Regions from separate parts of the Homo sapiens genome. Here regions 1, 2 and 3 are each linked to region 4. The links are contacts of gene promoters, found by promoter capture Hi-C in blood cells and fetal thymus (Javierre and others, 2016). All regions are on one chromosome and are shown on one strand. The core of a region is centred on a gene start or on the middle of the fragment in contact, and the rest is flanking DNA. Distances in the headings are between cores, read along the strand shown. Region 1 holds the start of CANT1 (calcium activated nucleotidase 1). Region 2 holds the start of C1QTNF1-AS1 (C1QTNF1 antisense RNA 1). Region 3 holds the start of LGALS3BP (galectin 3 binding protein). Region 4 holds the start of CEP295NL (CEP295 N-terminal like).

What was found. Contacts are between HindIII fragments. The CHiCAGO score rates a contact against its expected background, and 5 or more counts as called.
Region 1: the fragment with the promoter of CANT1 here is called in contact with the fragment with the promoter of CEP295NL in region 4 in 5 of 17 cell types (neutrophils, total B cells, endothelial precursors and 2 more); the score reaches 10.4 in neutrophils.
Region 2: a contact is called between the fragment with the promoter of C1QTNF1-AS1 here and the fragment with the promoter of CEP295NL in region 4, in 6 of 17 cell types (erythroblasts, neutrophils, total B cells and 3 more). The highest score is 12.2, in erythroblasts.
Region 3: the fragment with the promoter of LGALS3BP here is called in contact with the fragment with the promoter of CEP295NL in region 4 in 6 of 17 cell types (neutrophils, total B cells, M2 macrophages and 3 more); the score reaches 8.7 in neutrophils.

What each region holds. Positions count from the first base shown.
Region 1 is chr17:79,008,436-79,011,135 of GRCh38, reverse strand. CANT1 (calcium activated nucleotidase 1) reads left to right here and starts at 1,372. Exons shown (of 5, transcript NM_001159773.2): 1 at 1,372-1,472. RefSeq lists an enhancer at 983-1,032 and a silencer at 1,273-1,652. The HindIII fragment of the contact is 10,955 bases long and covers 1-2,700 here.
Region 2 is chr17:79,026,248-79,028,947 of GRCh38, reverse strand. C1QTNF1-AS1 (C1QTNF1 antisense RNA 1) reads left to right here and starts at 1,293. Exons shown (of 3, transcript NR_040019.1): 1 at 1,293-1,572. The region is part of intron 1 of C1QTNF1 (C1q and TNF related 1); the gene reads right to left. The HindIII fragment of the contact is 3,661 bases long and covers 1-2,700 here.
Region 3 is chr17:78,978,673-78,981,372 of GRCh38, reverse strand. LGALS3BP (galectin 3 binding protein) reads left to right here and starts at 1,450. Exons shown (of 6, transcript NM_005567.4): 1 at 1,450-1,549. RefSeq lists an enhancer at 424-1,416. The HindIII fragment of the contact is 6,269 bases long and covers 1-2,700 here.
Region 4 is chr17:78,901,806-78,904,505 of GRCh38, reverse strand. It overlaps CEP295NL (CEP295 N-terminal like), which reads left to right and starts at 1,305. Exons shown (of 3, transcript NM_001243540.2): 1 at 1,305-1,372; 2 at 2,580-2,700. The coding sequence starts at 2,678. All of the region lies in intron 1 of TIMP2 (TIMP metallopeptidase inhibitor 2), which reads left to right. RefSeq lists an enhancer at 1,526-2,126. The HindIII fragment of the contact is 4,047 bases long and covers 221-2,700 here.

The DNA.
Region 1 (2,700 bases), core at 123-2,622, 110 kb before region 4:
CAAGGGTGGGAAAAATATTACAAAGTACCTTCTTAAGGGTGAGGGAATATCACGAAGTACATTATCCTAAGGGTGGGGAGGGTGTATTGTCATAAGGTCAATTGATCAGTGAGGGTGGGGCAGGAACAGATCACAATGGTGGAATGTCATCTTTTGTGGTTCTTCAGTTGCTTCAGGCCATCTGGATGTATATGTGCAGGTCACAGGGGATATGATGGCTTAGCTTGGGCTCAGAGGCCTGACAATAATGAGTATTATGTGAGACATGGTTGGGACTCAGTTTAGCATGACAAGAAACATTAATGAATTCAAGAAAGGTTTGTCTCCTCTCCAAAATCAAAAACCAAAAGTGCATAACAGTGTTTAGCACATTTCTATTTAGTTAAAGGTAATTTAAGATACGTGTTTATGACTTGTTTGGATACCATATAACATCTAGTGATCGCCTCTGGGCAGGGAATACAGAACGGCAATGGGAGGCTTATTTTTCATTGCGTACCATTTATATAATTTGAATTCCTCCTCTTGTGTATCTTTTACTGAACGGAAGGTTTTGAGAGAGCTGGGGGAAGTAGCTGGTATCAAGCAGGAAAGCTGAAGGTGCAGATGGGCAGGGGGCTGGTGCACCCTTCTGCCAAGCTCTCCTGCCAGAGGCTCCACGGCCACCAGGCCTTTCTCAGAACTTTGGGATGGAGGAGGGCGGGGCCGGGGAAGCCTTTTAACAGAGTGCCCTAAAATATCTCGGGGGCTAGGGCTACGGAGGGGAAAGGAGAAATCAGAGACCCTTGTTTGGCAGGTTTGTCAACTGCAGATTTTTTGCAGGGAAACACCCCACCGTCCCCACCCCAGGACACTACAGCCTTAGACCTCCCTGATCCTGGCTTTGGCAACTGGTCAGCAGCACTCTGGAGGCGGCTGTTTTGAAGGGCCAAGGAGAGGGGCTGCCTGAGAATGAGGATGGCAGAAAGGGGCCCACGGTTTTCCGCCTCCCAAGACTACGAGGGTCGGGAGGCCCATGTAAGGGGGCCCTCGCTCGGAGAATGAGAACTTCCCTCCCTAGTAGCCTTCACCCCCCTCAATGCCTCCCACCCCAAAAGATCTGCTGGGCCCACGTTCCAGCGCAACGCGGTGGAAGACGGCCCTCATGTGCCAGTGCGGACCCTCGCGCCCCTCCAGCCTGCAGCCAGCCGGCCGCTCCTCCAGCGCGCAGGCGCAGGACGGAAAAAAAAAACACAAAAAAACAACAAAAAAAAAACCCAAAAAAACACAAACCACAGCTCCCAGCAGCCCTCGCGCCGTCCGCGCGCAGCCGCAGAGCAGAGGCTGCCGGGAACGCGGGCCCAGAGGCGGGGCGAGCGCGCGCGGGGCGGAAGTCGGCCACCTTCCTCCGTCCCGGCCGTTAGCCCAGCCAAGCCCAGCCAAGCCCAGCCAAGCCCCGCCGATCGCGGGCACCGGAGCCAGCCCCGCAGCGGGTGAGTGACTGCGCCCGCGGCCGCCGGCGCCCTGCCCCAGCCACGGGCCCGGACCCCCGTCCCGGAGCCTGCCGCCGCCCTCCGACCCTGCCGCGTCCCGCCCCCTGACCCGTCAGGCCCCCTTCCCGTCCCACCCGTGCGGGATCTCTGCCCCCTGACTCGCAGACTGGGCTGGGACTCTGCCCTCTGACCTGTGGGAAAGTCCCCTTCTTCCGACAGGCGGTGGACACCACCCCCTCTGACTTTTGGGACACCTCATCCCTGGGACTAGCGTGGGGACCATTACCCTCTGGTTAGTGTGGGCACCCCTCCTCTCTAATTAGTGTGGGGACCATTCCCCTCTGATTAGTGTGGGCACCTCCCCCCTCTGATTATGTGACTCCTCCCCGCTCTGATTAGTGTGGGACACCCCCCTTCTAATTAGTTTGGGGACCATCCCCCTCTGATTACTGTGGGGCACCTCCCCGCTCTGATTAGTGTGGGGACCACCCCCCTCTGATTCATGTGGGGCACCTCCCCCTCTGGTTAGTGTGGGGACCATCCCCCTCTGATTAGTGTGGGACGCCTCCCCGCTCTGGCTAGTGTGGGGCACCCCTCCTGGGAATGACCCCCTCCCACCACCTTCTGACTTCAAATACCCCTCCTCTGGTCTATGCAGGGTCTCCTTGGACTGATAAGGGAATTTTCTCCCTCTGACTGGCACTTGGTCAAACCTGTAACAGGCCAACCTTCCCCACCCCATCCCAGTCCTTGCTCTCCCTGCCCTCATCCAATTTGGAGCCTTCCTCCAGGCACACAGCTCACTCTCATCTTCCTGCATGCAAATGATTCGCCCTCCCCACCATACCTGTCTCACACCCCTACTGCCATCCGGTCTGGATTCTCTCATCCTTGGAGACTGGTACCTCCTTGCCAGTCCATGTTGCCTGGTGCCTTTGCTTCTCCCTCCGAATGGTCTTTCCCTTGCCCTCTGTGTACCCTAGGCTTGGCACAGAGCACCTGTGACCACTCTTCCATCAGCAGACACATCTCTCTCCCAAACACCTTTCCCCCTTAGTGACCCCTGGAAAAGCCGTCTCTTAGTGTCCCAGCTCCATTTCTTATTTTATTCTTGAGGTTGTATGCCCTATGGCCTTTCCTACCACATTTTCAACAAAGCAGAGGTTTGGAAATGTGAGGCTCTTGGTGTCAAGTGAATCCGGCTAGCTCTCCAGTGTAAGGGCCCAAA
Region 2 (2,700 bases), core at 44-2,543, 120 kb before region 4:
GGCACAGGATCACCAGGAACACCCGCGCGTGCATGCACACACACACACACACACACACACACACCTTAAAATGTGAGGGGCTTGGGCAGTGTGGCCCATCGGATGTGCATTTTTAGGGCACTGCTTTTGTAGGGTGAAGAGACACCAGCATGCTGGCAAGCTCTGAAGAAGGGAGGAAAAGACCCATGTGCTGGGGTACAGATGATTTTTCTCTCCCGACCAGTGCCCTCTAATGGGCACAAGCAGACCTGAGCTCTGAGTTGCAAAGGAATCTAAGTTCACGCACCACACGGGGAGGACCCTCAGGACCATGGGCCTTGCCCTCATTGATATCCTTTCATGGAGGAGGGGGCTCCCCTGAATGCCAGAGGACGCAAGAGACCTGTGGTCACCCCCTAACCCACCCAGATCCTTCCATCTCTCACTTTAGATTCTTTACAAGGAGAATGGGTCTAAGCGTTTTCTGAACACACCTCTGTCCCCAGCTCTGAAGACTGGCCCCAGGAACCTGTGGGCAGAGTCAGGGGGCCCTGCCCGCCTTCTGACCTACATCTGCCTCGAACCCACCCAGGGCTGGCAGCTTTCCCAGCAGCTTCCCTGCTCCCCAGGGCAGAGGGTGGCTGTTATCCAGATGTCTTGCTGAGGGGGATGGGTACAACCCAAAGCATAGGGTTTGGGGCATTCCACCAAGTGTGGCTTTAGCCGTGGCCAAGAACAACATTTGACCCAGCACAGGGCACCAAGAACTTGACTTCCCCATGCCCCGCCTGCCTGTCTGCCTCTTCTCCTCCTCCCCTCGACTCCTGCCTCCCTGCCTGCCGTCTCCTGCTCTACTCTGTCTCGTGTCAAGGAAAATTCCTACAGGAGCCAGGGAGATGGGCAGACACCGGCCCGGCCACAGCCGTCCCGACGGCCGTCCTGGACAGGATGGGGGCCCGGGGAGGGGCCTGCAGTCTGTGCCAGCCCCATCTGAAGCTGGAGAACGGCTTAGATCCAGGGGGCCTCAGAGGCAAGATAGCAGTGCCCTGGTGTACAGTGGGGACTGTGGGGGTCCCCGTGCCCCTGCTGGAGACCATCCCCCTTTGAACCACATTCAGATGCCAAGCCCAGCTCTGGAAATCAAATGTAGGCAAGAACAGGCAGCTGGAGGGGTGCTGATTTGCCAAGAGCCACTCATATCACCCCAGCACAAGTGTCACACAGCCGTGACCTTGACAAGGACCCAGAGATAAAGATCCTTCCCACATGGCTCCGAAGCCCCTCCCTTCCTGCTCACACCGCATGCCTCTCCCAGAGAACTAGAGGCTGCAGCGGCAGCAGTTGGAGCATCTCACTGCGGGGCTCGGGAAGGAGGAAAGGAGTGAGCATGTCCTGCTCCTGCATGTCCCTGCTTAAGCTCAGGACTGGCCCTTCCAGGCCAAGGACCCCAGCATAGACCCCAGGACAGGGCCCCAAGGATCCCTGGCTCATGAGAGCGGCTTGCTGGGCTGCCCCAAGAGAGCCTGAAGGAAACACATTGTTGAGCTGAGCTGACGTCGCTGTTTCTTCCAGACTGCTCTCTAAAGTGGGCAGGTGAGTTCTTGCCCTGTATGAAGGGGTCAGGGAGATGGCAGGGTCCTGTCCAGAGAGCTGCCTTGTGCCATTTGACACCAGCAGGCCAATTTCAGCAGGTTAACAGGGGAAATGGCAACCTGTGGCCCATGAGGGAGTGCCCCCACTTGAACATCTCTAGAGGCTACTGATTGTCAGGCAGAGGTGGGATCGTCCAGGGGATGGTGTAACCTGCTACTTCTTCCTGCCCTTCCTGGTGTCCGTCACCCCCACCCCTTCCCTAAGGTTCTGGAGCCTCAGCCACAGCCCCCCCCCGCCCAGGAACAGGGACCCCTGAGGACAAGACACAAATGGGAAGCTCCAGTCCCTGCGCACAACTGTATCTATGAAATTCTTTTCATCTTTGTTTTGATGAGCAAAGTTCAATGCCAGAATATTTGGTTTATGAGTCATGCTAATTACAGCTGGGGGGAGGCACCAGGAAGAAGAACAGAAAGGAGCATGTTCCAAAAACACTCTGTTGTCCTGGTTGCCCTGAAAAGGGGGGTCACTTCCTAGGAACAAGGAGGGAACCCATGGCCTTCCTGGGACAGCTTGGGCTTTCTCTGCTCCTACTTGGGAGGACGTCCCTCGCCAGCTGGCTGCACCTGCCTGGGAGGGGCAGTGGTGTCCTGTAGCCGCACAGCGCCCACCTAGGGCTTCCTGCACCATGCTTCCTGCCTCCCTGAATGAGCTCACTGGGGACACCACCCTTGGCAACACAAGAGGAGGAGAGGGAGGCGGGAGGAGAAGTAGAGAGTCCCTGGGTAGCGGACCTGTGTCCTTCCTGCCCCTGGGCATTCTCTGTTAGCAGCTGGGAGAGAGAAGTTCCCAGCATCAGCTTGGCGAGCTGAGTGCCATGTTCCCAACACCAGATAGGAAGGTTAAAAGTATACGCCCCGGAGGCCAGGCGCGGTGGCTCACCCCTGTAATCCCAGCACTTTGGAAGGTTGAAGCGGGTGGATCACTTGAGGTCAAGAGTTTGAGACCAGCCTGACCAACAGGGTGAAACCCAGTCTCTACTAAAAATACAAAATTAGCCAGGCGTGGTGGTACACACCTCTAATCCAGCTACTTGGGAGGCTGAGGCAGGAGAATCGCTTGAACCTG
Region 3 (2,700 bases), core at 201-2,700, 77 kb before region 4:
TTTAAACTCCCCACAGCCAGTTCTATTTCCAGCTGCACCTGCCCCTGGATCTTCACAGTTCCTCTGGAGGGGATTAGGCAAACCGTGCAGCTGCCTAAAACCTCACACCTTGAAGGAAATAGTCATTGAATGTCTGACCTCTGGGCTGGCTGTCTCGGACTCTAAGCTGCCAGGGAACCAGGGCCTTCCACCCAGTGGGACTGCCTGGGGGCTTTTAAATGCCCCTGCCTGTCCCCTACTCCCAGAGATGGTGACTTCCTGGGTCTAGGCATTAGGAGTTTGTAAAACTCCCTGATGATTCTTCTGTCCAGCCCAGGCTGAGAACCACTGGTCAGAGGCCTGGGCACATCCCAAGGCTCATCCAGAACCATGGGGTGCAAGTGACAGAAACAAGAGCGGCTGCTGATTGCCTCACTGAGCGGTGAAGCCCAGCCTTGACCATGGATTAGGCCAGCTGGACCCAGGAGCTCAGGCCGGAGGATGCCTGCTTCCCTCTGCTCTGCCCCACCGGCCCCAGCAGCCTGGGCCCACATCCTCTCAGTCAGAAGCTGGCTCTCACCGGCTGGCTGGGCTCACAGCCCCACCCTGAAACCAGCAGTGTGGCCCGGGGCCCCCGCAGGGCTCAGACAGCCAGGCCTTGGGTGGTTGAAGGCCAAGAGCTGGGGGCCCTCTGGGAACCACACAGCCGGGAATGGGAGGGGGTGCTCCCCAAGGGACAGTTGAGGTGCCGGCTTTCAGTGGGAGGAAAGGGAATGGGTATGAGCTGGACAGAGCCATTATGTCACCCAGAGAGGCTCTGTCCCCCGCCCCGCTGAGGGGGAGACAGTAGGAGAGTGGCCACAGGTCCAGCAGTGGCGAGCACAGGCTCTGGGGTCAGGTGTTGGAGCAGGGTCCAGCTCCTCCACTGGCCAGCTGCATACCTGGTTCTCAGTGCCTCCCTCCCCTGGGGACAGGGGACAGTGCCATGCAACCTTGTGGGGCACAGGCCCTCTGTGTGGTCAGCATGCCAAGAGCACAGAGAGGGTGGATTTGCACATAAGCAGCCCCCTGTGTGGTGTTCACCCAGCCAGCAACGTGCTAGACCCAGGAAAAGACTCGGAGCGCTCTGTCAGAGTCCACAGCCACACCACCAGGTGCAGACTGTCTGGGCCCAGAGCCTCTGCTTCTTCCCCTCCCGTCCACCAAACGCCAGCCCCTGACCAGCCTGGCGGCCTTTCCAACTGAGTGTGGCTGTTAGTCCTCTTGCAGGCCTTGCTCCAGCCAGACTCCCACCTTGGGCCTCTGCCAGCCTGGCACTGATAGCCACAGGCAGAGCTGAGACAAAAGAGAGGGGCCCTGGGGAGTATCAGCAGCAGCCAATCCCGGAAGACATCTATGTCAGGTGGTTTCTGGAAATCGAAAGTAGACTCTTTTCTGAAGCATTTCCTGGGATCAGCCTGACCACGCTCCATACTGGGAGAGGCTTCTGGGTCAAAGGACCAGTCTGCAGAGGGATCCTGTGGCTGGAAGCGAGGAGGCTCCACACGGCCGTTGCAGCTACCGCAGCCAGGTAAGCTCCTGCCTCTAGCTCTCAGGTGGGCACCCCTCTCAGTCTCTCTCTCTTTTTTATTTTTATTTTTTTTGAGACAGGGTCTCACTCTGTCACCCAGGCTGGAGTACAGTGATGCAATGTCCGCTCACTGCAGCCTCTGCCTCCTGGGTTCAAACGATTCTCCTGCCTCGGCCTCCCAAGTAGCTGGGATTACAGGCGCGTGCCACCACGCCCAGCTAATTTTTGTATTTTTAGTAGAGACAGGGTTTCGCCATCTTGGCCAGGCTGGTCTCAAACTCCTGACCTCTGGTGATCCACCCGCCTCGGCCTCCCAAAGTGTAGGGATTACAGGTGTGAGCCACCGCGCCCGGCCAGGGCACCCCTCTCTCTACACAGGCAAGTGGGGGTCATGCCTCCCTGTTTGCACATAGGCCTGGAGCTGGGGATCCAGGGCTCCTGAGTCCAGCAACAATCATTGCTGCTCCCAGGCCCACAGGGCCTCTGTGTACAGTTGGGCAGATTACTCACTGCACAAGGATACCAGCCAAAGGGCAAGTGGGTTAGAATTCAGCTTGGCCCTCTCTCAGACCTGTGCATTTGGCCTAGGCCTGCACCCACTCCAAGGAAGAGCACCTTTTTTTCTGATTTGCACGAAGGGGCCAACACAGGCAGCCGGGTCTCAACTGTATGAAGGAATCAGGCAAAAATAGCCGCTGCCACACAAAGGGCAGCGACGCCACCTGCCAGGTGCTTCGTTGCCCCCCCCCCTTTTTTTTTTGAGACAGAGTCTTGCTCTGTCACCCAGGCTGGAGTGCAGCGGCTCACTACAATCTCTGCCTGCCGGATTCAAGCAATTCTGTTGCCTCAGCCTCCTGAGTAGCTGGGACTACAGGTGCACACCACCATGCCCAGCTTATTATTATTATTATTTTGTATTTTTAGTAGAGCCGGGGTTTCACCATGTTGGCCAGGCTGGTCTTGAACTCCTGACCTCAAGTGATCCACCTGCCCCAGCCTCCCAAAGTTCTGGGATTACAGGCGTGAGCCATCGCGCCTGGCCAGTTGGCCATTTTTCCAAGGCCCTGAGTTACTCTCCCAGGACGGACAAACCTAGTGGCTGCAGCAGAGTGAAGTGGCTGGGGGCAGAAGTGGAGAGGGCGTCCACCCAT
Region 4 (2,700 bases), core at 56-2,555:
GGGTCCTTCCAGCCCAGGACAAAGGGCTTTGTCTCAGGTTCAGCTCTCCTGAGAATTCATCCTCCCCGAGATTTGGACACCTCAGCCGAATTCCTGCTGTTTACCTTCTTCTCTCAAGAAACAACAACCTGAGGATTGTTGCTTTCACTTCTTCGGACCCAAATCATGATTTCCCAGCCACATTTCTCAGTTGTCAAATTTGTGGAGGATGCTGGAAGCTTCTAGTGAGTTGCTTACAGATGATCCAACTGGCGGCTTACTAAAACATATCTTGGGCTGGGGGCGGTGGCTCGTGCCTATAATCCTAGCACTTTGGGAGGTCGAGGCAGGGGAATCGCTTGAGGTCAGGAGTTCAAGACCCGCCTAGCCAACATGGTAAAACCCCGTCTCTGCTAAAACACACACACACACACATAAATTAGCTGGGCATGGTGGCATGCACCTGTAGTCCCAGCTACTCAGAAAGCTGAGGCACTAGAATCCCTGAACCCGGGAGGCAGAGGTTGCAGTGAGCCGAGATTGCGCCACCGTACTCCAGCCTGGGCAACAGAGCAAGACTGTCTAAAAAACAAACAAAAAACATATCTTGACAATGCCAGTCATCACTTTACCACAGACCTTAAGATGCCAACCACCCAGACTAGGTCAGGGGCCCCCATTTCCAGCAGCTACTCCTGCTTCCTGGAAACCCCCTGCACCGGCCAGACTCCCCCAGTGTCCCATGTTCATCCCCAGCCTCGCCCTGCCAGCTTCCCTCGCCCATCCTTCTGATCAAACTGTCTGTGGGGAACTAGCCCTCAAACGAGGCCAAGTACGTGTGGCTTCTCCTCCTGTGTGGGCAGGTGGTTGACGGGATTCTTTCTTCCCCCGCCTCCAGTGGGTTTCAGTTTAACGATGGCTTTCTGGAGCTGTTTAGAAGCGTGAACAGATGCTGTCCCTACAGGAGAAGGGATGGCAGGCGTTGTCAGGAACCCTGACCTTGAAGTGTACCTCCTTAATGGCCTGACAGCTCAGAGAGAATGACACCCTGGGAGGTCTCCATGCAGCCAGCTGGGGACAAAAAGATGTCCTCTGCCTGGTATGGCCACGAGCATTTGTACATTGCACTGTCCTTGTTCACCCACACCTCCTTAAACAGTGCCTTCAGGTGCCCCCATGGCTCCCGGCTGCTTGAGCCAAATCTTTATGATTGATCCCCTAACCTACACGCTTGCCCCCTGGCTGGCTCACAGCTGTCCCTGACCTCACCCCTGCCATGATGTCACAGCTCAACAGCTCTGCTGTTCCCATGGCAACAGCCTGCTATGAGTAGCCAGCCAGGGCAGAGGCCGGGCTGCAGGTGGAGGCGGGGAAGCGATTCCGGCCACCTTTGGTCAGTGGGCCCCTGAGACCACTGCGGGGCTGAGGCTCTCTGTGTCTGTTCCCATCTGTGGTGAGGGTGGGGTTCTTTCCATGCCCAGCTGTTTAGCGAGGCTCCCAAGAGGGCCCCGGAGAGTGGGCCAAGGAGGGGCTCCAAGCCGTGGGTTCGCAAGGCCAGCGGCAAAGTCCCTGCACCACGGGGCTCCCCACAGGCAGTGTGATGGGAAGGAGAGTGAGGGAAGCTGGTGGGACTGGGTTGGAGATGAATATGGTTGTTGGAGGAGTTGGGCTGGGGGGTCTTCAGGAAGCAGGAACACCTGCTGGGATTGGGGACCCCTGACCTAGGCTGGGTGCTTAGGATCTTGAGGTTTGCAGGGAAGCGGTAATGGACGCTGTCGAGGTATGTTTAGTGAGCCACCGGTTGCATCAGCTGTAAGCCCCCCACGTGGGGAGCTGGCGTCTCAGCTGGGAGTTTGGAGGTCAGTCTGCCTCAGTGTCTGTCTCTGTGAAGCTGGTCAAGGGGAGGCCTGAGCCCGAGCTTGCCCCCAGAGGCTGCCTGCCCAACCATCTCCACCCTGGAGAGCTGACCCAGCCCAGGATATGGATACACACAGATTCATGAGCTGTGGCCCCAGTATTCGGGTGGAAAAGCCTGCTGTGGGCCTAGCCAGGACTCATTCTAACGTGACCCACCCCTGCCCCAGGTGATGCTAACACAGCCAGTCCAAAACCCAGTGCAGGCTGGGCATGGTGGCTCATGCCTGGAATCCCAGCACTTTGGGAGGCCGAGGCGAGTGGATCACCTGAGGTCAGGAGTTTGTAACCAGTCTGACCAATATGGTGAATCCCCGTCTCTACTAAAAATACAAAAATTAGCTGGGTGTGGTGGCGTGCGCCTGTAGTCCCAGCTACTTGGGAAGGCTGAGACAGGAGAATTGCTTGAACCCGGAAGGTGGAGGTTGCAGTAAGCTGAGATCGCACCACTGCACTCCAGCCTGGGCAACATAGTGAAACCAAAACCCAGTGCAGTGGCTTGGGACCCCCGTCCCCCCGCCACCACTGGGACGTGGCTAAGAGTTGGGGAGAAGAGGGCGAAAACCAAGCCTCTGGCAGCACACAGCGTGTCATGGAGGGTATTTTTAGAGGCTAGAACTCAGAGAAACGGAGTTAAAAATGTTTCTGATGTTTGTTTTATCTGGGCTTGGTTCGGATGCCTCCAGTGATGGGCGTCTCACTACCTACAAAGTCAGCCCAGTGATTTCAAGACAGCCCTGGAGACAGTGCTTCCTGCCCTCCTGTCAGCTTCTGCCTCCCTGTAATGTGTTCTGGGTGGTCTAGCTC